Linked DNA regions of Homo sapiens: all the other regions are linked to region 2. Evidence: promoter capture Hi-C in 16 types of primary human blood cells and fetal thymus (Javierre and others, 2016). All regions are on one chromosome and are shown on one strand. Each heading gives the region's core, a stretch centred on a gene start or on the middle of the fragment in contact. The rest is flanking DNA. Distances are from core to core; before and after follow the strand shown.

Evidence for each region. The method cuts DNA at HindIII sites, captures the fragments that hold promoters and counts their contacts. A CHiCAGO score of 5 or more calls a contact.
Region 1: a contact is called between a fragment that was not itself captured here and the fragment with the promoter of CSTF2 in region 2, in 2 of 17 cell types (activated CD4 T cells and endothelial precursors). The highest score is 5.6, in activated CD4 T cells.
Region 3: a contact is called between a fragment that was not itself captured here and the fragment with the promoter of CSTF2 in region 2, in 1 of 17 cell types (non-activated CD4 T cells). The highest score is 5.3, in non-activated CD4 T cells.
Region 4: a fragment that was not itself captured here is called in contact with the fragment with the promoter of CSTF2 in region 2 in 1 of 17 cell types (total B cells); the score reaches 6.1 in total B cells.
Region 5: a fragment that was not itself captured here is called in contact with the fragment with the promoter of CSTF2 in region 2 in 6 of 17 cell types (total CD8 T cells, total B cells, non-activated CD4 T cells and 3 more); the score reaches 8.1 in total CD8 T cells.
Region 6: a contact is called between a fragment that was not itself captured here and the fragment with the promoter of CSTF2 in region 2, in 1 of 17 cell types (erythroblasts). The highest score is 5.4, in erythroblasts.

What each region holds. Positions count from the first base shown.
Region 1 is chrX:101,211,928-101,215,737 of GRCh38, forward strand. No RefSeq gene overlaps it. Among named protein-coding and RNA genes, the nearest start is that of DRP2, 6.0 kb to the right of the region's middle. The HindIII fragment of the contact is 3,058 bases long and covers 435-3,492 here.
Region 2 is chrX:100,818,238-100,821,823 of GRCh38, forward strand. CSTF2 (cleavage stimulation factor subunit 2) reads left to right here and starts at 2,154. Exons shown (of 14, transcript NM_001325.3): 1 at 2,154-2,237; 2 at 3,290-3,368. The coding sequence starts at 2,180. RefSeq lists enhancers at 1,826-1,885, 1,896-1,945, 2,226-2,385. The HindIII fragment of the contact is 13,366 bases long and covers 1-2,260 here.
Region 3 is chrX:101,277,514-101,280,876 of GRCh38, forward strand. It overlaps TAF7L (TATA-box binding protein associated factor 7 like), which reads right to left. Exons shown (of 13, transcript NM_001168474.2): 7 at 1,481-1,522; 8 at 536-608; 9 at 93-206. Among named protein-coding and RNA genes, the nearest start is that of TAF7L, 12 kb to the right of the region's middle. The HindIII fragment of the contact is 211 bases long and covers 1,577-1,787 here.
Region 4 is chrX:101,299,357-101,302,808 of GRCh38, forward strand. No RefSeq gene overlaps it. Among named protein-coding and RNA genes, the nearest start is that of TAF7L, 9.7 kb to the left of the region's middle. The HindIII fragment of the contact is 1,775 bases long and covers 601-2,375 here.
Region 5 is chrX:101,102,702-101,106,474 of GRCh38, forward strand. All of the region lies in intron 4 of CENPI (centromere protein I), which reads left to right. Among named protein-coding and RNA genes, the nearest start is that of CENPI, 6.4 kb to the left of the region's middle. The HindIII fragment of the contact is 5,027 bases long and covers 1-3,773 here.
Region 6 is chrX:101,195,734-101,199,098 of GRCh38, forward strand. No RefSeq gene overlaps it. Among named protein-coding and RNA genes, the nearest start is that of DRP2, 22 kb to the right of the region's middle. The HindIII fragment of the contact is 2,811 bases long and covers 615-3,365 here.

The DNA of each region.
Region 1 (3,810 bases), core at 714-3,213, 390 kb after region 2:
CTTAGGAAACCAGCTAAATAGAGGCATTAAAGATTTTTTTTAAAGATTTGAGTCCACACAATGAGATACTACTTTATAACTTCTAGGATGGCTATACTAAAAAAGACAAGTATTGGCAAGAATATGCAGAGATGGGAACCCTTGTACATTGCTCGTGGAGATGCCACTTTGATGAACGGTCTGGCAGTTCCTCAAAAAGTTAAATGCAGAGTTATCATATAACACAGCAATTCCATTCCTAGGTATGTACTTAAAAGAATTGAAAACATATATTCATACAATAAACTTGCACACAAATGTTCATAGCAATAATATTCATAATAGCCAAAGGGTGGAAACACCTAAATGTCCATCAATTGATGGATGGATAAATAAAATGTGGTATATTTATACAATGGAATATTATTCAGCCATACATAGGAATGATGTAGTGAAGCTTGATGATAATATGCTACGTGAAAGAATCCAGACACAAAAGACCACATGTTGTTTGATGTCATTTGTGTAGAATGGCCAGAATAGGAAACTCTATAGAGACAGAAGGTAGATTAGTGGCTGCCTAGGCCTGAGAAGGGACTGGGGGGATATTGGGGGCAACTGATAATGGGTATGGAGTTTTTAGTTTGAGACAGAGTTTCACTCTATCACCCAGGCTGAAGTGCAGTGGTGCAATCATAGCTCACTGCAACCTGGAACTCCTGAACCCAAATGGTCCTCCTCACGCAGCCTCCCGAGTAGCTGGGACTAAAGGCACGAGCCACCATACCTGGCTAATTTTTAAATATTTTTCAGTAGAGACACAGTCTCACTGTGTTACCCAGGCTGGTCTTGAACTCCCAGGCTCAAGCAATCCTCCTGCCTTAGCTTCCCAAGGTGCTCAGATTATATCACACCTGGCTGAATTGTGCACTTTTAAAAAGTGAACCGCATGACAATAAGAAAGAATTGCAGTTGTAATTATGAAAAAGTTCAGATTTTGTTGAATTCTCTCATGCTTATTTTATAGGTTAGTATTATTTATATCTTAAATTATTTATAGGCACTTAGGGTTTGTACCATTATCTATCTCTTTCATTCTTGGGGTTGTTTGTTTGTTTTTCCTTTTTTTTTTTTTTTTTTTTTTAGATGGAGTCTCGCTCTGTTGCCCAGGCTGGAGTGCAGTGGTGTGACCTTGGCTCACCACAACCTCCACCTCCCGGGTTCAAGTGATTCTCCTGCCTCAGCCTCTTGAATAGCTGGGACTACAGGTGTGCACCACCATGCCCAGCTATTTTTTGTATTTTCAATTGAGACGGGGTTTCACTATGTTGGCCAGGCTGGTCTCGAACTCCTAACCTCGTGATCTGCCTGCCTTGGCCTCCCAAAGTGCTGGGATTACAGGTGTGAGCCACCATACCCAGCCATCGTTCTTGGGGTTTTAAAATGTCTTACCCTAGCCCTGTTGTACTCTAGCTGTGCATCATACATCATATTGAATCTTTCCTTCTTTGCCTTCCCCTTCAAAATCATTTGCCCTCTATCCCATGCCTGTCTGGTGATTAGAACGAAAGAGACAAACTAATGAGTATAATGTATAGTAACTGAAGATAGCACTTTCATTTTGACAGATGCTTTAACTTGAAGGAAATGATTAATAGGGAATTGCAGGCACCATGGTGGGGCCAGCAGGGGAAGTCATTTTTATTAGTGATAGCATTTCAGTCCTCCTCAAATTATACCAAGTAGGTACCTACTAACTCCACTGACTCCTGTGAGATCGAATTTAAGACTGGATCTAAGGAGGGGGCAATATGGTAGCTCCAAGTTTGACTGGTTATTGTCCTGTATGAGGCATCCTTTTATCGCTGACAGAGTCTCACCTTGAAATTGTCACTTTGCCTCTACCAAGCAAATAAATACCTGCCTTTCTTTTGTGAGACAGATAGAGCTTGCTACTAGATATAAAACAGACAGCTCTTGTTGTTTAGGCCCAGGGTTGCTTTAGATTCTGAAGCAACTTCAGGGTTTAAAGGCATCCCTGAAATGGGTCTCTACCAGTTGGTGGTCAAGGTGCTTGCCACCCATATATGCCAATATGTGCTTTCAAGTGCACCTAGAATTATGAAGTGGTAAGTTCTAGGATGTGTCCTATTTGTAATACTGTGGCCCTGCCTAAAAGTAGGAGAGATGTGGGAAGAGTATCAGCTTTGGAGTCAGGTGGATTTGGGATTGAATCCCAGCTTGCATTTTTTTATTAGCTTTATGAATTTGGACAAGTTACTTTTAACATCTCTGAGCTGTAGTCTCCTTGTCTGTAAAGTTGGAAATAATAACCCTTACCTCACTGAATCATTGTGAGCATTGCAGGAGGTAACACTGGCACATAGGTACACTACTTGGCACAGAATACAGTCTCAAAAATGTTAGTTCCCTTCCCCTCTCAATCCAAGTTACAAGCAAGAAGTGAGTGACCATCTTGCCTCAGTATCCTAAACACAATGAAAGTACAAATCAATAGCAGTTCTCTTTAGCCTAGAAAATCAGTAGTTGTTTTCTTTTTCTTTTTCTTTTTTTTTTTTTTTTTTTGAGATGGAGTTTTGCTCTTTTTGCCCAGGCTGGGGTGAAATGGCGTGGTCTTGGCTCACTGCAGCCTCCACCTCCCGGGTTTAAGTGATTCTCCTGCCTCAGCCTCCCAAGTAGCTGGGATTATAGGCAACTGCCACCATGCCTGGCTAATTTTTGTGTTTTCAATAGAGATGGAGTTTCACCATGTTGGCCAGGCTGGTCTTGAACTCCCAACCTCAGGTGATCCACCTCAGCCTCCCAAAGTGCTGGGATTACAGGCGTGAGCCACTGTGCCCAGCCGAAAATCAGTAGTTCTTATTGAATTGTGTGTGTTTTCTTGGAAGCTCATATGTGAAAGGTTGCTAGTGAATGTGCATATGTCTAGCAGTCTGGGCTGAAAGGAGGATAGGAAGGTTGATAATGTGAAAGATAGTGAATAAACCTGAATTGTGTGGTTGGTGTGTCTACTTAAAGAAATATAGTATCTGATCTAGCATGGAAACAGGGAGCTAATTACATTCCTGGCACGACGTCCTTAGCTGTTATAGTCTACTCTAGGATGTATGTCCTTTGCATATAGGAAAACCACCAGGACCTTGAAGCAATAGAAATAATAATCTCTTACATTTGAATAACACTTTATAGTTTCAATATATATTCACATCCATTATCCCATTTGAGTCTCAATCCAAATGAGTGAAGTAAACAGGGCAGACAGCTATTATCTCCTATCTGGTGAAGGAAAAATCAAAGCTCAAAAATGTCAGTGACAATTTCGTAGCAAAATTGGGATTAGAACCTTTGTCTTTTGACTCCTAATTCAACATTCTTTCCACTATACCACTTTAACCGTAGCTTGAATGGTTTTGGCCTAAGTGGAATATATTTGAAAACATAAATAGAAGTTATGTTATATAACATCCCAGCTGCTGGGTCTGGTTTAGCAGAAGCTTGAAGAACAGCAGAAGAGGGTGGGAGGTAACCAAGTGTGTAAAATGAGTTCCACATTTTCAGATGTTCAACAAAAGCAACAGAGAGTGCTCAGACCATTGACTGGGACAATACTGATTCTTTAACCCTTAGTCTGTTATGGCTTTGCATTATTCCTTATCAACTCCAATGACGAATTCCAGCCTTTTTGACATTGTGCCCCCTACATTTTTAACCTGTTCCTCCAACTTAACCTGTTCCTTCAACTTATCTCCCAGCCTCCTGCATCTATATCATACATGGTGAAAATCCCTCCCTCCTACTCTCTGACTCATT
Region 2 (3,586 bases), core at 904-3,403:
CTAACAAATGAGTGTTGTAAGCCACTAAGTTTGTGGAAATTTGTTACACAGCAATAGAAAACTAATACAATGAGGACACAGCAAGTGCTTAATAAATGTTAGCTTTTATTATTACTAACTCATTGGGATCAGCTACACAGTTGTAAGAAGGCTAAAGTAAAAATTATTTATGCAAGGCTGGCAGTGCAACATAGCATTCAGATCCAGGGTCCATTTGGTCTAATATGGCTGATATTAAGTGTTTCTCAAGGGGAGAGACATTATTGGCATTCAGTGGGGGGAGGGGTTCATCCTGTAGAACTGCCTTGGACATGGCAGTCCATTTATCATCTCTGGCTTCTCTTCCCCTAGCAGTAGTCATTGCAACAACTGAAAATGCCACTGTACATTTCCAAAAATGCTCCTCCACAAGGGTTGAGAACTTTGAGAACTACTTTAAGGGAAATTTCATAAGAAAGCATGCGTGTCTTAAATGCTGCCATAAAGCTACCTCAATAACTACAATGCTACTCAAATTACCTGACCCTAAGAATCGCCAGTGGCACTTGTTTAAATATAACGATTCCCAAGTTCTTTCCCTGGAGTCCCATTCCATAGGGCTGGGGTGGAGCCCCAGGAATCTATACTCTTACTCAAAGACCCCAGGTTAATCTTTTGTTTATGTAAGTTTGCCAAACACTGAGTTAGAAATATACTCAGCCGTACATGCATTTAGCAAAAGTTCACCACAACGGAACAATGACACACCAAAACTCTTTGAAACTGTGCCTTCTACAGAGCTGTAAATCTCCTTTTGGACCATTCCATTACACAAGGTGTCCTCTTGGTCACACAGTGATTGCAAATGGGACTCTAGAGTCATGGAAATGGGTATACTCTTCTCAAACTTTCCATCTTTACCAGAATTACTTCTTAAAGTGATATGCTTCATGGTGTAAACTAGCACTTATTAATTTTTTCTAAATATTTATCATATTTCATATACTTTTATTTTGGAGATGGAGTTTCGCTCTTGTTGCCCAGGCTGGAGCGCAATGGCAGATCTCGGATCACCGCAACATCCATCTCCCGGGTTCAAGCGATTCTCTGGCCTCAGCCTCCTGAGCAGCTGGGATTACAGGCATGCGCCACCACGCCCGGCTAATTTTGTATTTTTAGTAGAAAAGGGGTTCTCCATGTTGGCCAGGCTGGTCTCCAACTCCCGACCTCAGGTGATGCGCCCGCCTCGGCCTCCCAAAGTGTTGGCATTACAGGCATGAGCCACCGCGCCCGGCCCATATACTTTTAATACATGTGGAATTAATAAAAACGTCCATGCCTCCAATTCCGTGGCTATTTTACCGTCTTCCTTTTTCGGACAAGTCCCTCAAAGGTAGCGCTCTTGGCTCCTTCCTTTGCTTATCCCCTAACCCTGTCCTCCTGAGGTGCCCCCTGGATTTCCTCCAACCCCGGCAGGGTCTGCCTTTCCGGGATGATACAACGACCTGCCCTGCATGCCATATCCCAGGCGCGTGGGCACCAAAGTGTGGAAAAACCGATGAATGACGTTTTCTGTTTCCGATACTCTGCCTGCCAGAATCCCCTGCCGCACCGCCCCACCACGAAGCACATGGAACCCACGGACTACACGAGGACAGAGGTCTGTTCTCCCTTTACCTCTCCCATTTCTTTAACTATGCTTCTCTCGGCTGGCATGCCCTTTCCTCATCTCACTCCACACACGAACAGGTTTAGCAAATAATATGCACGCTGCTGGGACGGGCCCAAGCATTTCCCTCCCTTGATAGGGCGGAACTAAAATGCAAGCCCCACAGTTGTCAGCAAAGGACTTCCCTGTTACCATGGTAAAGCCGCTGCGCCTTTATTGTGGTTGAGGAGTACTTGCATCAACCTAAGAGAAAATTAATAAGAAGGAAGTCTGCAGGCTGAAACCCTTCAAATTAGCCTGGACTCGCCTGCATCTGGCTCGGAACAGAGTTAATCTCAGGAGTGAGAATATAGCCCTCCGGTGGACGCAACTCGCGCCTGCGGCTAACAGAATGTCTCCAGGGGAGGGGCTCTGCGTCCGTTCCGCCCAGGCCCTTCCGGCTCACGCGCCGTACGGAAGCGTGCTCAGCGCTGGGCTTGTGCTCCGTACGGAAGTGTGCTTTGGCGCACCGGAAGCCGACTCAACAGAGCTATGGCGGGTTTGACTGTGAGAGACCCAGCGGTGGATCGTTCTCTACGTTCTGTGTTCGGTGAGAGGAATTCGTTGTAGTCAAGCTTCGGGGAGGGACTCCCCTCTGCACCTTCTATCTCATGAATCGCTACCGGAGCCGCTGACGGTTCGGACGTGCAGTTCTCCCTGCTTATCCTGTAGGGCGTCCAACCTGGTGGACTCATGAGCAAAGAGATATTCCCATTCTGCCGAGGTCTCGTAGGCTTTCCGCAATATCAGTGGGGAAGTTAGACTAGCGTTCAGCTTCTGTGCGTTTCTCCTTTCATGAGCTTCAATTATTCTCTAGAGGAGAAGGCTCACGGTAACAGCTCCTCACTGTCCCGTACTACTTCTCATCCTCTGCCCCAGAATACAGACTATATGCTGAGGGTATAGATCCTAGTGTCCACTTACTGTCCTCTCCTAAGGACTTTCATCCTTTGCTTTTTATCTGTAACATTTTAGTGCATCAATAGTGGTAGCGGCCACCTGGTGTCCTGAGATGGCTTGTAAGTGAATGAATGAATGAACTATTAAGATCTCCTCAGAGGAATTTTAAAAAGGATCGAAACGATTCTGAATTATCTTTTTGGCTGAAATAAGTTGTTTTTAAAAATACGTGTGATTATTTTAGAGTACCATTTGAAAGGGACATGACAAAGTAGTTCAGAATACTTTTTAAACATCTTTCACTACATTCATCGTCATTCTCCCTTAAATGTTGTATGTGTGGAAATACATAGGAACCTGTTTTAAAAATTATATTAAATAACATTGATATTTTTTGTAGTCACTGATGAGACTTGCAGATCTTTAGGTAAATACCAGTGCCAAAGTATTTATTTGCACCAAAGTTAAGGAAAATCTAACACGTGTCAGATCAGTCTGAGAACTAACATTTGAGAGTACCTACACATTTTGTATTTAGTTTCAGTGGTATATTTCCTTTGTTAAGAGGTCTGAAGAAATACAATGGAATTGGGATTGGAGAACACTATTTTGAGTCTTATATTTGATGATATAAGTTTACTTTCTCACTAAAGATCTATGTTATAAACTCAGAATTTTAATGTTACCTATTTTCTTCCTTAGTGGGGAACATTCCTTATGAAGCTACTGAAGAGCAGTTGAAGGACATCTTTTCTGAGGTTGGACCTGTTGTTAGTTTCAGGTGAGATCCCCTTTTCCTTCATGGTGGGAGCTTCTTAAAAATCACCACAGATTTGGCTCTTAGTAATAATGGCAGGTTTTCTTTACTGGTGACTTTTCACATACATTTTGTTCTTGTAACAGCTTTATTGAGATATAATTGATACACTATACAATTGACATTTATTCTTACCTAAAATATGTTTTTTTCGTTAAAAATGTTTTTTAGGCAGGGCATAG
Region 3 (3,363 bases), core at 432-2,931, 460 kb after region 2:
TTTGGATTGGCCTATGAATTTATGGAAAATGATCTGATACCCAGTCAATACCTGCCCTATCTGAAACTCCTGCTTTGCCTTTACTAAAGTACCTGACGAGGTATGACCCTGCTTGTGGCTGCTCATTCCCGAGGATATCAAAAATCCTGGGATGGAGCCTTGACTTTCTATTTCCTTGGTTCCATCTTCAGCAATGACTTCCCAACCTGAAAGGAGTGGGTAGTCAAGGAAAACACAGAAGGAAACAAAAAGGCACAGCTGAAAGGGAAGGGGCTCTTTGGCTAACAGTGCTATTTAATTTAGTCCAACTTTAGGCCATTTGTATTGGAATTCCTAGTTTGGAGAAGTGCCTCATATTGAATTACACAATAAATAATTTTCTATTACATGAATTTACTGTTCCTAGCTAGAACATTTCAAAGAATCTTAAGTTCCACACATCAAGACTGGCACACAAACACCAGAGGTGAGGCTTCGTCAGCATGTACAAATGGGGCAGAACAGACTATGCAGAAAATATTTGTATAAAGGATACGGGTACTTACGGCTTCAGCATCCGAACGCAGCAGTCTCTTTACTTCATTTTCCACGTCTGGAGATTCAATGTACTGAAGCAAAGTTGGGGATTAGAGGGGGATACCAATACTGTCATTTAACACCCTGTGTGTTGCAGGAGTGCCCTCCTACGTACCAACGAATTCAAATGTTAGGCCTCTTTAAATTCTGATCCAACCAAATTTCTACTTTAAGTAGTGCTATTTATAAAGGAATCTTTAGCCAGGGTCTAGAATTTTGTACAGTAAACTTACTTTTTTCCTAATTAAACAAATTACTTGAGACATTTAATCTTTTCAATCTGCAGCTCTATGGTAAAGCCCTCTCTCAGAGGTGCAACCCTTAGGTCTCAGTTATAAATTATTTCTCCTGATTTATATTGGCAAAGAACTATAATTCCTTATTAGTTATTTAGAAATAATTTGGTTTAAAGATCCAAATTCCCAGATTTCACTTCCCCACATCTTTATTATTAGAGACGTTCCTATAAAAACTGGATCTTAGCTGCATGTTCTCCCTTGAATCCAGTTTTACATAATTATCTCCACAGCAACCAATTTGTTGTGCCACAAATAGAAATTAGGATTTTGATGGGGAATAAGCAATTGCAAACAACTGCTGTTAAAAGTGAGCTCTGGCTCCCAAGGAATGGCTTTTGAAATAAATATCAGAATAAAAAGAGCAGATTAGAATACACGGGGTCACTGGCCAAATTGTATCTTTTCCTCTAGCAGTTATCAAACATCAAACAATGAATTCATTTTTTAGTGAATCAAACCCAGTGTATGTGTTTAGGATGAGGGTTAGAGGTGAGAAGGAAGGCTCAAAAGTAGCTTCTGTGGTTTATTTGATTCATTTGAAACTAATGAGCTATTAAATAAAACACATTAAGGGTAAAAATGAAGTTATATTATGATTGCTCTACCTCAGTAAAGCTGCTTTTTTCCATTTCTTTGACATCAGGGACCTATGAAATAAAACACAATAAACAAGTTATATTATGATACCTATATTTCAGTAAAGCTTAAAGAGCTCTACAACTATCCTTAACTTAGTTTTACATTTAGTAGGCACTCAATAAATGTTGATTTACAGAGTATAAAAGCCAAGGCAACTGTGTTCATGGATTGGAAGACTCAATATAGTAAAAATGTCAGTTCTCCCCAAATTGATCTACAAGTTTAATGTAATTCCTGCCAAAATTCTAGCAAGGTTTTCTATAGCTATAGACAAGCTTATTCTAAAATTTATATTAAAAGATACAGGCTTTTGGCCAGGCGTGGTGGCTCATGCCTGTAATCTCAGCACTTTGGGAGGCCAAGGCGGGCGGATCACGTGAGGTCAGGAGTTCGAGACCAGCCTGGCCAACATGGTGAAACCCGTCTCTACTAAAAATACAAAAATTAGCCGGGCATGGTGGCCCATGCCTGTAATCCTGGCTACTTGGGAGGCTGAGGCATGAGAGTCGCTTGAACCCGGGAGGCAGAGACTGCAGTGAGCAGAGATCGTGCCATTGCACTCCAGCCTGGGCAACAGAGCGAGACTCCATCTCAAAAAATAAATAAATAAATAAATAAATAAAGATATGGACTCTAGAATGGCTAAACAATATTGACAAAGAAAAGTAAAGTCAGAGCAATCAGCCTTCTAATTTCAGGACCAATTATATAGCGACACTGTGATATTGGTGGAGGGATTGACAGATGGATCAGTGGAGGAGAATGGAGAACCCAGAAACAGACCCATAAAACCAAGCCCAACTGATATTTCACAAAGGTGCAAAAGCAATACAACAGAGGAAGAATAGCCTTTTCAACAAATAGTGCGAGAGCAATTAGACATCCTTTGGCAAGAAAAGCAAAAACAAACAAACAAACAAAAACAAAACAACAACAACAACAAAAAAAAAACCTTGAACTAAACCTCATAGCTTTTACAAAAATTAAGTCGAAAATGGGCATCAGGCTTAAAAAGATGTAAAAAAAAAAAAAAAGCAGGAGAAAATCTTCAGGATCTGGGCTAGGCAAAGAGTTCTTAGATTTACTATAAAAAGCAAGATCGTTTTCAAAAAAATCAATATATTGTACTTCATCAAAACTAAAAACTTTTGCTCTCTGAAAGACCCTACGAAGAGGATGGAAAGACAAGCTACAGACTGGGAGAATATATTTGCAAACTACATATCTGATAAAACACTGGTAGTATTTAAAATATAAAAAGAACTCTCAAAATTCAATAATAAAAAATCAATTTAGAAAATAGGCAAAAGGCATGAGCAGACATTTCGCTGAAGTGGAATAGATGGCACATGAGATGCTCAACCCCGTTAACCATCAGGGAAATGTAAATTAATACTACAATGGGATCACTATGCACCTATCAGAATGGCTAAAATGAAAAATAGTGACAACACCTAATGCTGGTGAGGAGGTGGAGAAACTGGATCATTCATACATTATTGGCAGGAATATAAAATGGTACAGTCACTCTGGAAAACAGGTCATTTCTTACAAAACTAAACATGTGACTACCATATGACCCAGCAATTATACTCCTGGACATTTATTCCAAAGAAATGAATACTTATATTCACACAAAAACCTGTTCACAGCTTTATTTATAATAGTCAAAACCTGTAAACAACCCAGATGTCCTTCAAAGGGAGAACAGTTATGTAATGTGGTACATTCATACCATGGAATACTACTCAGCAATAAAAAATAAACTATTGATGCTACAAAAACTTATATGGATCTTAAGTGAATTATGCTGAATGAAAAAATAAGCTAGTCTCTGATGTTATATACT
Region 4 (3,452 bases), core at 238-2,737, 480 kb after region 2:
TCTTCCTTGGAGAAATGCCTATTTTATTACTCCAAGGAAGAGATACAAATGGCCAATTAGCATATGAAATATTGAATAGAAACATCTATTCAATTTCAATATACTCCTAGGTATTTTTTTAGTTACTGTAGATGGGTTTGCTTTTTTACTTTCTTTATCCACTAGTTCATTATTGGAGTGTATAGTTACTACTGATTTTTGTGTGTTGATTTTGTATTCTGCAACTTTATTGCCCACTTATTAATTAGGTTAGTTGGGTTCTACTTTGTGTTGTTCTTGAGTTGTAAGAGTTCTTCATATATTCTGGCTGGGCGTGGTGTAATCCCTGCACTTTGGAAGGCCAAGGCAGGCTGATCACTTGAGGTCAGGAGTTTGAGACCAGCCTGGGCAACCTGCTGAAACCCCATCTCTACTGAAAATACAAAAAAAAAAAAAAATTAGCCAGGCGTGGTCATGGGCACCTGTAATCCCAGCTAGATAGCATCCTTTGGTACACAAAAGTTTTTAGTTTTGGTGAAGTCCAATTTATCTACTATTTCTTTTGTTGCCTGTGCCTTTGTTGTTATATCCAAGAAATCATTGTCAAATCCAATGTCATGAAGCTTTTCCCCTATGTTTTCTTCTAAGAGTTTTATAGTTTAAGGTCTTACATTTAGGTCTTTAATCCATTTTGAGTTAATTTTCTTTCTTTTTTATGTAATCCCACTACTCTATTTTTGCTTTTGTTGTGTGTGCTTGGGAGGCGTTAGCCGTAAAATCTTTGCCCAGACCAATGTCTTCAAGTATTTCCTCTGTTTTCCTTTAGTCGTTTCATAGTTTCAGGTCTTACACGTAAGTCTTTAATCCATTTTGAGTTGATTTTTATATATGGTGAGATATAGGGGTATAGTTTCATTTTTCTGCATATGGATATCCAGTTTTCCCAGCACCATTTATTTAGTAGACTGTCACTTCCCCCAATGAATGTTCTTGGCACCTTTGTCAAAAATTAGTTGGCTGTAAATACATGGGTTTATATCTGCATTCTCTATTCTCTTCCATTGGTCTATGTGTCTGTTTTTATGCCAGTACCACGTTGTTTTGGTCACTATAGCTTTGTAGTATATTTTGAAGTCAGGTAGTGTGGTGCCTTCAGCTTTGTTCTTTTTGCTCAGAATTACTTTGACTACTCAGAATCTTTTGTGACTCCATACAAATTTTAAGATTTAAAAAATATTTCTATGAATAATGTCATTAGTGTTTTGATTGTGATTGCACTGAACGCATAGAGAACTTTTGGTAATAGATTACTTTTTCAAAATGTTGATTCTTCCAATCCATGAACATGAAAGTCTTTCTATTGTTTTTTGTCCTCTTCAATTTCTTTCATTAGTGTTTTATAACTTTTTCATCTTGATCTTTTACCTCATTTAAATATATTCCTATGTTTTTTTTTTTTTGACCAAGTTTTGCTCCATCACCCAGGCTGGAGTGCGGTGGCATGACCTTGGGTCACTGCAACCTCCACCTCCCAGGTTCAAGCAATTTGCTGCCTCAGCCTCCCGAGTAGCTGGGATTACAGGTGCCCACCACCATGTCCGGCTAATTTTTGTATTTTTAGTACAGACAGGGTTTCAACATATTAGCTAGGCTGGTCTCGAACTCCTGACCTCATGATCTGCCTGCCTCAGCCTCCCAAAATGCTGGGATTACAGGTGTGAGCCACTGCGCCTGGCCATTCCTAGGTATTTTTTCTATTTATTGTAAACAGGATTGCTTCTTTTGCTTTCTTTTTCCACTAGTTCATTGTTGGGGTGTATGGAGTCACTACTGATTTTTTTTTTTTTTGATGGAGTCTTGCTTTGTTGCCCAGGCTGGAGTGCAGTGGCATGATCGTGGCTCACTGCAAGCTCCGCCTCCTGGGTTCAAGTGATTCTCCTGCCTCAGCCTCCCCAGTAGCTGGGACTACAGGCACCCGCCACCACGCCCAGCTAATTTTTTGTATTTTTAGTAGAGACGGGGTTTCACCATGTTAGCCAGGATGGTCTCAATCTCCTGACCTCATGATCCGCCAGCCTTGGCCTCCCAAAGTGCTGGGATTACAGGCGTGAGCCACCGTGGCCGGCACTACTGATTTTTATATGTTGATTTTGTATTCTGCAACTTTACTGAATTTGTTCATCAGTTCTAGCAGTTTTTTTGCTGGAGCTTTTAGGGTTTTCTCCATATAAGATCGTGTTGTCTGCAAACAGGACAATTTGTCTTCCTTAATTTCCAATTTGGATTCTCTTTATTTCTTTCGTTTGCTGAATTACTCTGGCTTAGACTTCCAGCATTACATTAAATAAAACTGGTGAAAGTGGGTATGCCTGTCTTGTCCTAGATCTGAAAGTAAAAGCTTCCAACTGTTCCCTCTTTTTGTATTTATTGTAAATGGGATTTATTGTAAGTGGGATTGCTAGTCTGATGCTGGCTGTAGGTTTGGCCTTTGTTGTGCTGCTGTACATTCCTTCTGTACCTAACTTGTTGAGACTTTTTATCATGAAGGGATGTTGAATTTTATCAAATGTGTTTTACTGAGTTTATTGAGGTGATAAAATGATTTTTGTTCTTCATTCTGTTGATGTGTTATATCACATTTATTGATTTGCATACACTGAAACATCCTTGCATCCTTGGGATAAATCCCAATCATGGTGAATGATATTTTAAATGTGCTCCTGGGATTGGTTTACTAGTATTTTGTTAGGGATTATTGCATCTATGCTCATCATGGATATTGGTCTACAGCTTTCTTTTCTGTTGTGTCCTTGTCTGGTTTTGGTAGCAGGGTAATGCTGGCCTAATAGATTCTTCCAAATGAGTTTGGAAGAATTTTCTTTTCTTCAGTTTCCTGGAAGGGTTTGAGAAGAACTGATATTAGTTTTTTGTTTTTCAGTTTTTTTTTTTGACGGAGTCTCACACTGTCACCCAGGCTGGAGTGCAGTGGGGTGATCTTGGCTCATTGCAAGCTCCACCTTCCGGGTTCATGCCATTCTCCTGCCTCAGCCTCCCGGGTAGCTGGGACTACAGGCACCCGCCGCCACGCCTGGCTAATTTTTTGTATTTTTATTAGAGACAGGATTTCACTGTGTTAGCCAGGATGGTCTCGATCTCCTGACCTCGTGATCTGCCCACCTTGGTCTCCCAAAGTGCTGGGATTACAGATGTGAGCCACCGTGCCTGACCTAGTTCCTCTTTTAAAGTTCAGTAGAATTCAGCAATGAAGCCATCGGGTTCTGGGCTTTTCCTTGTTGGTGTTTTATTGTCTTGATTTACATCTTATTATTTTTATTTTATGTATTTATTTTTTTTGAGACAGAGTCTCACTCTGTTGCCCAGGCTGGAATGCAGTGGCAGGATCTTGATTCACTGCAACCTCTGCCTCCCAGGTTCAAGTGATTCTCGTGCCTCAGCCTCCCAAGTAGCTGGGA
Region 5 (3,773 bases), core at 846-3,345, 280 kb after region 2:
TGGAGTCTTGCTCTGTCACCCAGGCTGTAGTGCAGTGGCACCATCTCAGCTCACTGCTACCTCTGCCTCTCGGGTTCAAGCAATTCTCCTGCCTCAGCCTCCTGAGTAGCTGGGACTACAGGTGCGTGCCACCACACCTGGCTAATTTTTTGTATTTTTTTTTTTTTTTTAGTAGGGACGGGTTTTTGCTGTGTTAGCCAAGATGGTCTCCATCTCCTGACCTCGTGATCCGCCTGCCTCGGCCTCCCAAAGTGCTGGGATTACAGGTGTGAGCCACCGTGCCTGGCCGAGGGGATTTTTTTTTCTTTTGGGAGACTGGGTCTCACTCCATCGCCCAGGCTGGAGTGCAGTGGCGCAATCTCAGCTCACTGCAACCTCCACTTTCCGGGTTCAAGCAGTTCTCTGCCTCAGCCTCCCGAGTAGCTGGGATTACAGGTGCCTGCCACCACGCCCGGCTAATGTTTTTGTATTTTTAGTAGAGACAGGGTTTCACCATCTTGGGCAGACTGGTCTTGAACTCCTGACCTCGTGATCCACCCGCCTCGGCCTCCCAAAGTGCTGGGATTACAGGTGTGAGCCACTGCGCCCAGCCTGGGATGCTTTTGTCATCACTTTGCTGTTAGTTTTTCCTTTTAGACTTTGTTTATTTATTTTTTTGAGACTGAGTTTTGCACTTGTTGCCCAGGCTGGAGTGCAGTGGTGCAATCTTGGCTCACTGCAACCTCTGCCTCCCAGGTTCAAGCGATTCTCCTGCCTCAGCCTCCTGAGTAGCTGGGATTACAGGCATGCGCCACCACGCCTGACTAGTTTTGTATTTTTAGTGGAGATGGGGTTTCTCCATGTTGGTCGGGTTGGTCTCGAACTCCCGACCTCAGGTGATCCGCCCACCTCGGCCTTCCAAAGTGCTGGGATTACAGGCGTGACCCACTGTGTCCGACCTTCCTTTTAGACTTTGAATTACATTGTTCATTGGAATTAGTTGCAGTTTTTTATGTTTACTGTTCTCTTCATAAGACCAATCTGTTAAGATTATAAAATGGGTTTTTTTGTGTGTGTGTTTGGGCCAAAAGTTTCTGTGTGCATATGCCAAAAATAACCAGTTACCATATATCATCACAGATAAAATGCAAAATACATACTTTTGTCACCAAATACATGAGAACCATTTTTTAGTATTTATCTTAAGAAGCATACGTAGTAATTTAAACAATGTTGCTGGAAGGCATCTTAAAAGATCACTTAGTCTACTTCATTACCTTCATTTTCTTTCTTTCTTTCTTTTTTTTTTTTTGAGATGAGTTTCACTCTTTCACCCAGGCTGGAATGCAATGGCATGATCTCGGCTCACTGCAACCTCTGCCTCCTGGGTTCAAGCGATTCTCCTGCCTCAGCTTTCTGAGTAGTTGGGCTTATCGGCATGTGCCACCACACCCAGCTAATTTTTGTATTTTTAGTAGAGACGGGGTTTCGCCATGTTGGCCAGGCTGGTCTCAAACTTCTGACCTCAGGTGATCCACCCGCCTTGGCCTCCCTAAGTGCTAGGATTACAGGCGTGAGCCAGTGTGCCCAGCTAAGATGCTTTTTCTTTTGTGCAAATATCTTTTCCTGTTCTAAATTCATTGGTGGTGGTTGGGATGGTTGGAAGAGGTTCTTAGAAATAACACCTGGTCAATATTTTATTTACTTGAACCTTTTAAGTTTTTCTCATTTAAATTCAGACTTGGAAGATATTTTAGACTCTAAACACTCTCATTTAAAGGTGAGGAAAAAGAGGCTCAGAGTAGTTAAAGAGACTTGCTTAAAGATGTCCAAACTCCCATTCTAGTGCTTATACTGTACCACATTGCTGCTTTTTTTCCTACTTAAAAAAAAGTTAAGGCTGGGTATAGTGGCTCATGCCTATAATCCCAGCACTTTGAGGGGCCAAGGCAGGATGATTGCTTGAAGCCAGATTTGAGACCAGCCTGGGCAACAAAGCGAAACCTTGTCTACAAAATGTTAAAAAAAAATTAGCTAGGTGCAGTGGCATGTGCCTGTAGTCCCAGCTACTTGGGAGTCTGAGGCAAGAGAATCACTTGAGCCCAGGAGTTTGAGCTATGATGGTGCCACTGTACTCCAGTGTGGGCCACAGAGCAAGACCCTGTCTCTGGGAAAAAAAAAAAAAAAGAAAAATTAAGACAGCTCTCAAAACCAAATGCTTTATATACTAAGTATTTCCTGGCTGTTGCATGTTAGATTCCTTTGTTTATACCCTAGCAGCATACTTGCAGGGGTGTGTGTGTATTTATTTTAAAGTAACAACACATTACTAACCGAATTCAACATATGACTGTCAAGTATTTTATTTCTCTATTTTTATCTGATTAGTTCTCTGTTTCCCTAGAAAGTTAAATTAGACCTAATAAAATTGGCTTTTTTCTTGTAGATGGTTTTAGATTATTTGGTTCTAATATCTTTCCAGGAATCCATGTTTAACTGAACAATGTCTGTCAAGATCAATTCTCCCACTCCCATCTCACCTTAAAACATATATGGAGTAGGGGCCGGGTGCAGTGGCTCACGCCTGTAACCCCAACACTTTGGGAGGCCGAGGTGGGCGGATCACGAGATCAGGAGATCGAGACCATCCTGGCTAACATGGTGAAACCCCGTCTCTCCTAAAAATACAAAAAATTAGCCGGGCGTGGTGTCGGGCGCCTGTAGTCGCAGCTACTTGGGAGGCTGAGGCAGGAGAATGGCGTGAACCCAGGAGGCGGAGCTTGCAGTGAGCCGAGGTCATGCCACTGCACTCAAGCCTGGGTGAAGAGCGAGACTCCATCTCAAAAAAACAAAACAAAAAAACAACATGTATGGAGTATACAGATGTTTTCTATTTTAGAAATTTTTTTTTCGTGACAGAGTCTCGCTGTGTTGTCCAGACTGCAGTGCAGTGGTATGATCATGGTTCACTGCAGCCTTGACCTTCTGGACTCAAGCAATCCTCCCATCTCAGACTCCCAAGTAGATGGGACTACAGGTGCGTGCCACTGCACCCAGCCTCCTTTTGATATCTCAGAAATTAATGATTAGGTTATCTTGATGTCTGCTAGGACTTGAGGTGTCTCAAAATGCATGCCTCAGACTCGGGAAACTTTTATATAGCAAGTTAAAAAATAATCTCTGGCTTTCTATTGTTACTTTTCATTTTTTTTTTCTGTTAAGCTGGAATTTGCTGAGGTCAAATGTGGCCTCCTTAATTCCTTTTCTCCCTTTTATTATAGTTATTTCTGTGATGTCCCCATCCCTACTAGATCTTTACATGCAGCTCTTTTGGTAAGTTGAGATGCATATTTAGAGGCAGGTATGGTAGAAATGTCATCATAATTAGGTACAAAGGGACTTTAGACTCTTTAAAAATTAAGTCACTTGGAAGTAAAAATAGAATTAATATTGAATTCTCCCTTTGAATTTGGTGCACATGTAATGTGTTGGTGGTGAGACTATTTTAAATTTCGAAGAGTTAGTGGATGGGAGTGAGAAAGAAAACAAGAAAAACAAGAAACCACAAGAGTGGAAAGCAGAGATTTTTATTTTTGTGATTCATTACCTATCATCACTGCTTCCTTTCTTCTCCACAGAATGATAGTGTAGAAAGTGATGAGATATATTCTAATTCTTGAAGCCTTAATTAACAGAAATTGAGATAGGATATATTCAAAGCCAGTCTCTATGACATCTTTTTTTTTTTTTTTTGAGATGGAGTTTTGCTCTTGTCACCCAGGCTGGAGTGCAAT
Region 6 (3,365 bases), core at 770-3,269, 380 kb after region 2:
AGATCTTCTGAAAAATGTAGGAGGTTTTCAAAGTGCTTATAGATATATTCTTCCCCAATTTTTCTGTTTAAGATTTTTTATTAGTCTATTGTGTACCTTAACTGTTATTCACAGCCTTAGGCAGCTGCAAAGCTAAATCACTTGCCTGTATTTGTTTTTGGCAAATACTCCCCCTGGAGAAGGCTTTTTGCACTGTGTTATCTCTGAGCAAGTGGTATTTTCCAGGGAACCACCAGACATATATAACAATGACAGTTGTTTAGGAATGAGGCTTTGAATAAGCTCCCACCTCTTTCTGCTCCCTCACGTGTCAGGCTGCTGGTTTTCTTCATAAATGTGGACTGTAATTTTTTAAGGCTACTGCAGAGCTAGAGAGTGGGAGATGGAACTAGGACAAATTAAAATGACGTGAAGCTCACTTTTCTTACAGAGATTCAGGTGTTTTTCTTTAAAATACATTCCCCAGGTTGCTGCAAGCCTTTGGTTAATTTCCAGAGTTCTGAAAATGTTGATTCTGACTAGTTTTGGCTTCAAAAAAATTTTACGGAGGACTGAATTTGGGGGGCCGTTACTCTTCCATTTTCGCTAATATTGTCTCAATAATTCTTTTAAAAAGCTTGTTAATATAATTATATCTAAAAACATTAACAATACTGCCTTAATATATGTCTATTTTATGTTTCCCTGATTGTCTCAAAGTATTTTTATAACCATTTGTTTGATTCAGGTATTTTAAATGGTCCCCAGGTTACATTTGGTTGATATGTCTTTAATGCCTCATTTAATCTATAGGTTCTCCTTGTTCCTTTTTATTTTTGCAATTTTTTTGTTGAAGAAACTGGGTGTCTTCCTAAGTTTCCCACATTCTAGAGTTTGCTCATTCTATTCTCATGATATTGTTTAACATGCTCCTTTGTCCCTTTTTTCCCTACAGGTTTAATTAGAGTAGATCTTATCTTTTGATAAGAATATTTCATATATACTATTGTCTGTCATTCTCCTTATATTTTAAAGCTACATTTGGGTGCCCATATCAGGGCCCTACAACAAGTGGATTAGAATATAGAGGCTTAGGCTAGGCACAGTGGCTCACGCCTGTAATTCCAGCATGTTGGGAGGCCAAGGTGGGCGGATCACCTGAGGTCAGGAGTTCCAGACCAGCCTGGCCAACATGGTGAAACCCCGTCTCTACTAAAAATACAAAAATTAGCCAGGCGTGGTGGTGTGTGCCTGTAATCCCAGCTACTCGGGAGGCTGAGGCAGGAGAATCGCTTGAACCTGGGAGGTAGAGGTTGCAGTGAGCCGAGATCGCGCCACTGTACTCCAGCCTGGGTGACAGAGCGAGACTCCGTCTCAAAAAATAAATAAATAAATAATAAAGAAATTAAAAATAGAATATAGAGGCTTACCTATAATCTCTTCCTTCTGTGCACTCCCTTCTTCCCAAACAGATATACACTTATTCTCTCAGTAATGAAATACTTATTTCTAGGAATTGAAAAGTAACCTTTTTTTCCATTAAAATACTGGTTCTGTCAGTCTTAGATTACCACGACCATTATTAAAATCTTTATACTGCATTTTTTACTATTTAGTATTTTTAGATTTTTAAACCCCAAACCTAAACCTTTGTCAGCCTAATTGTACTGGAATTTTAAAAATAGTATCAAGCTGGGTGCACTGGCTCTTGCCTGTAATCCCAACACTTTGTGGGGCTGAGGTGAGAGGATCACTTGAGCCCAGGAGTTCAAAACTAGCCTAGGCAACGTAGCGAAACCCCATCTGTACAAAAAATTAAAAAATTACCAGGGTATGGTGGCACACACCTATAGTCCCAGCTACTCAGAAGGCTGACGAGGGAGGATTGCTTGAGCCTGGGAAGTTGAGGCTACAGTGAGCCATGACCATGCCACTGCACTCCAGCCTGGGTGACAGAGTGAGACCCTGTCTAAAAAAAAATATTGTCATGCATTATATCCAGTTCACATTCTAAGATATTGTGTGGATGCCTTTCATCCAGATTCTTCAGTGTGGCAGGCATTATTATAATAGTCTCATTTTACAGTTGAAGAAACTATAAGCTCTGAAAGATTGAATAATTCACACAAAGTCATTCATAATGGAGTCAGGTCTGCCTTTCAGATCTACTAACACCAGAGTCTATGGGTTTTTTTCATTACACCATTTTGAGAATAAAATCATATGGTATTGCAAGCTGCTCCTTGTACTCTTTCTTTTTTTTTTTTTTTTTTGAGATGGAGTCTCGCTCTGTCACCCAGGCTGGAGTGCAGTGGCACGATCTCGGCTCACTGCAACCTCCACCTCCCGGGTTCAAGTGACTCTCCTGCCTCAGCCTCCTGAGTAGCTGGGATTACAGGTGCCCGCCACCACGCCTGGCTAATTTTTGTATTTTTAGTAGAGATGGGGTTTCACCATGTTGGCCAGGCTGGTCTCGAACTCCTGACCTCCTGATCCGCCCGCCTTGGCCTCCCAAAGTGCTGGGATTACAGGCGTGAGCCACCGCATCCGGTCTCTTTTTTTTTTTTTTTGAGATGGAGTCTCACTCTGTCTCCCAGGCTGGAGTGCAGTGGTACAATCTCGGGTCACTGCAACCTCCACCTCCCGGGTTCAAGTGATTCTCCTGCCTCTGCCTCCCAAGTAGCTGGGATTACAGGCACGTGCCATCACACCCAGCTAATTTTTGTATTTTTATTAGAGACGGGGCTTCCCTATGTTAGCCAGGCTGGTCTCGAACTCCCAACCTCAGGTGATCTGCCCCCCTTGGCCTCCCAAAGTGCTGGGATTATAGACGTGAGCCACCACACCTGGTGCCTGGTACTCTCTTAAGAAAAATATCTCCTTTTTAAGATTATTAGTATCATAAGATCTAATACCTTGAAGCAGATAATATAGATACTGCAAGTATGGGCTATAATATAATAAATCACACTAGGGTGAGGAAAATTGAAAGGTTGTTCTCCACTTAATGCTTTAACATTACCAAATTAATGTTGTCTTCAATTACCACTTTCCCACACTAAAAATTAAAACTAATCACTATGTATAATTTAAACGTTTTGAATTATTGCCCTGAGCTTAATCTTAGTTTAAAACAATTGAAACACACCAGAACTTTCTTCAAAGAAAAATGTATTTGAAAACTCCTGGTAAAAATACTGATTCCTCTTTTAATGATAAAAGATAAAACACACTCTTATTGGAGCAGAGAATAATGACCACTTTTGTTTTATAAAACATGTGTTTCCCTCACCCCTAATTGAGTACACATGCTCCAGGAAAAAAATCAGGGCCAAATACTGCTAATAATGAAAGGGAAGAATATTAGGATCATAATTTAATTAGCT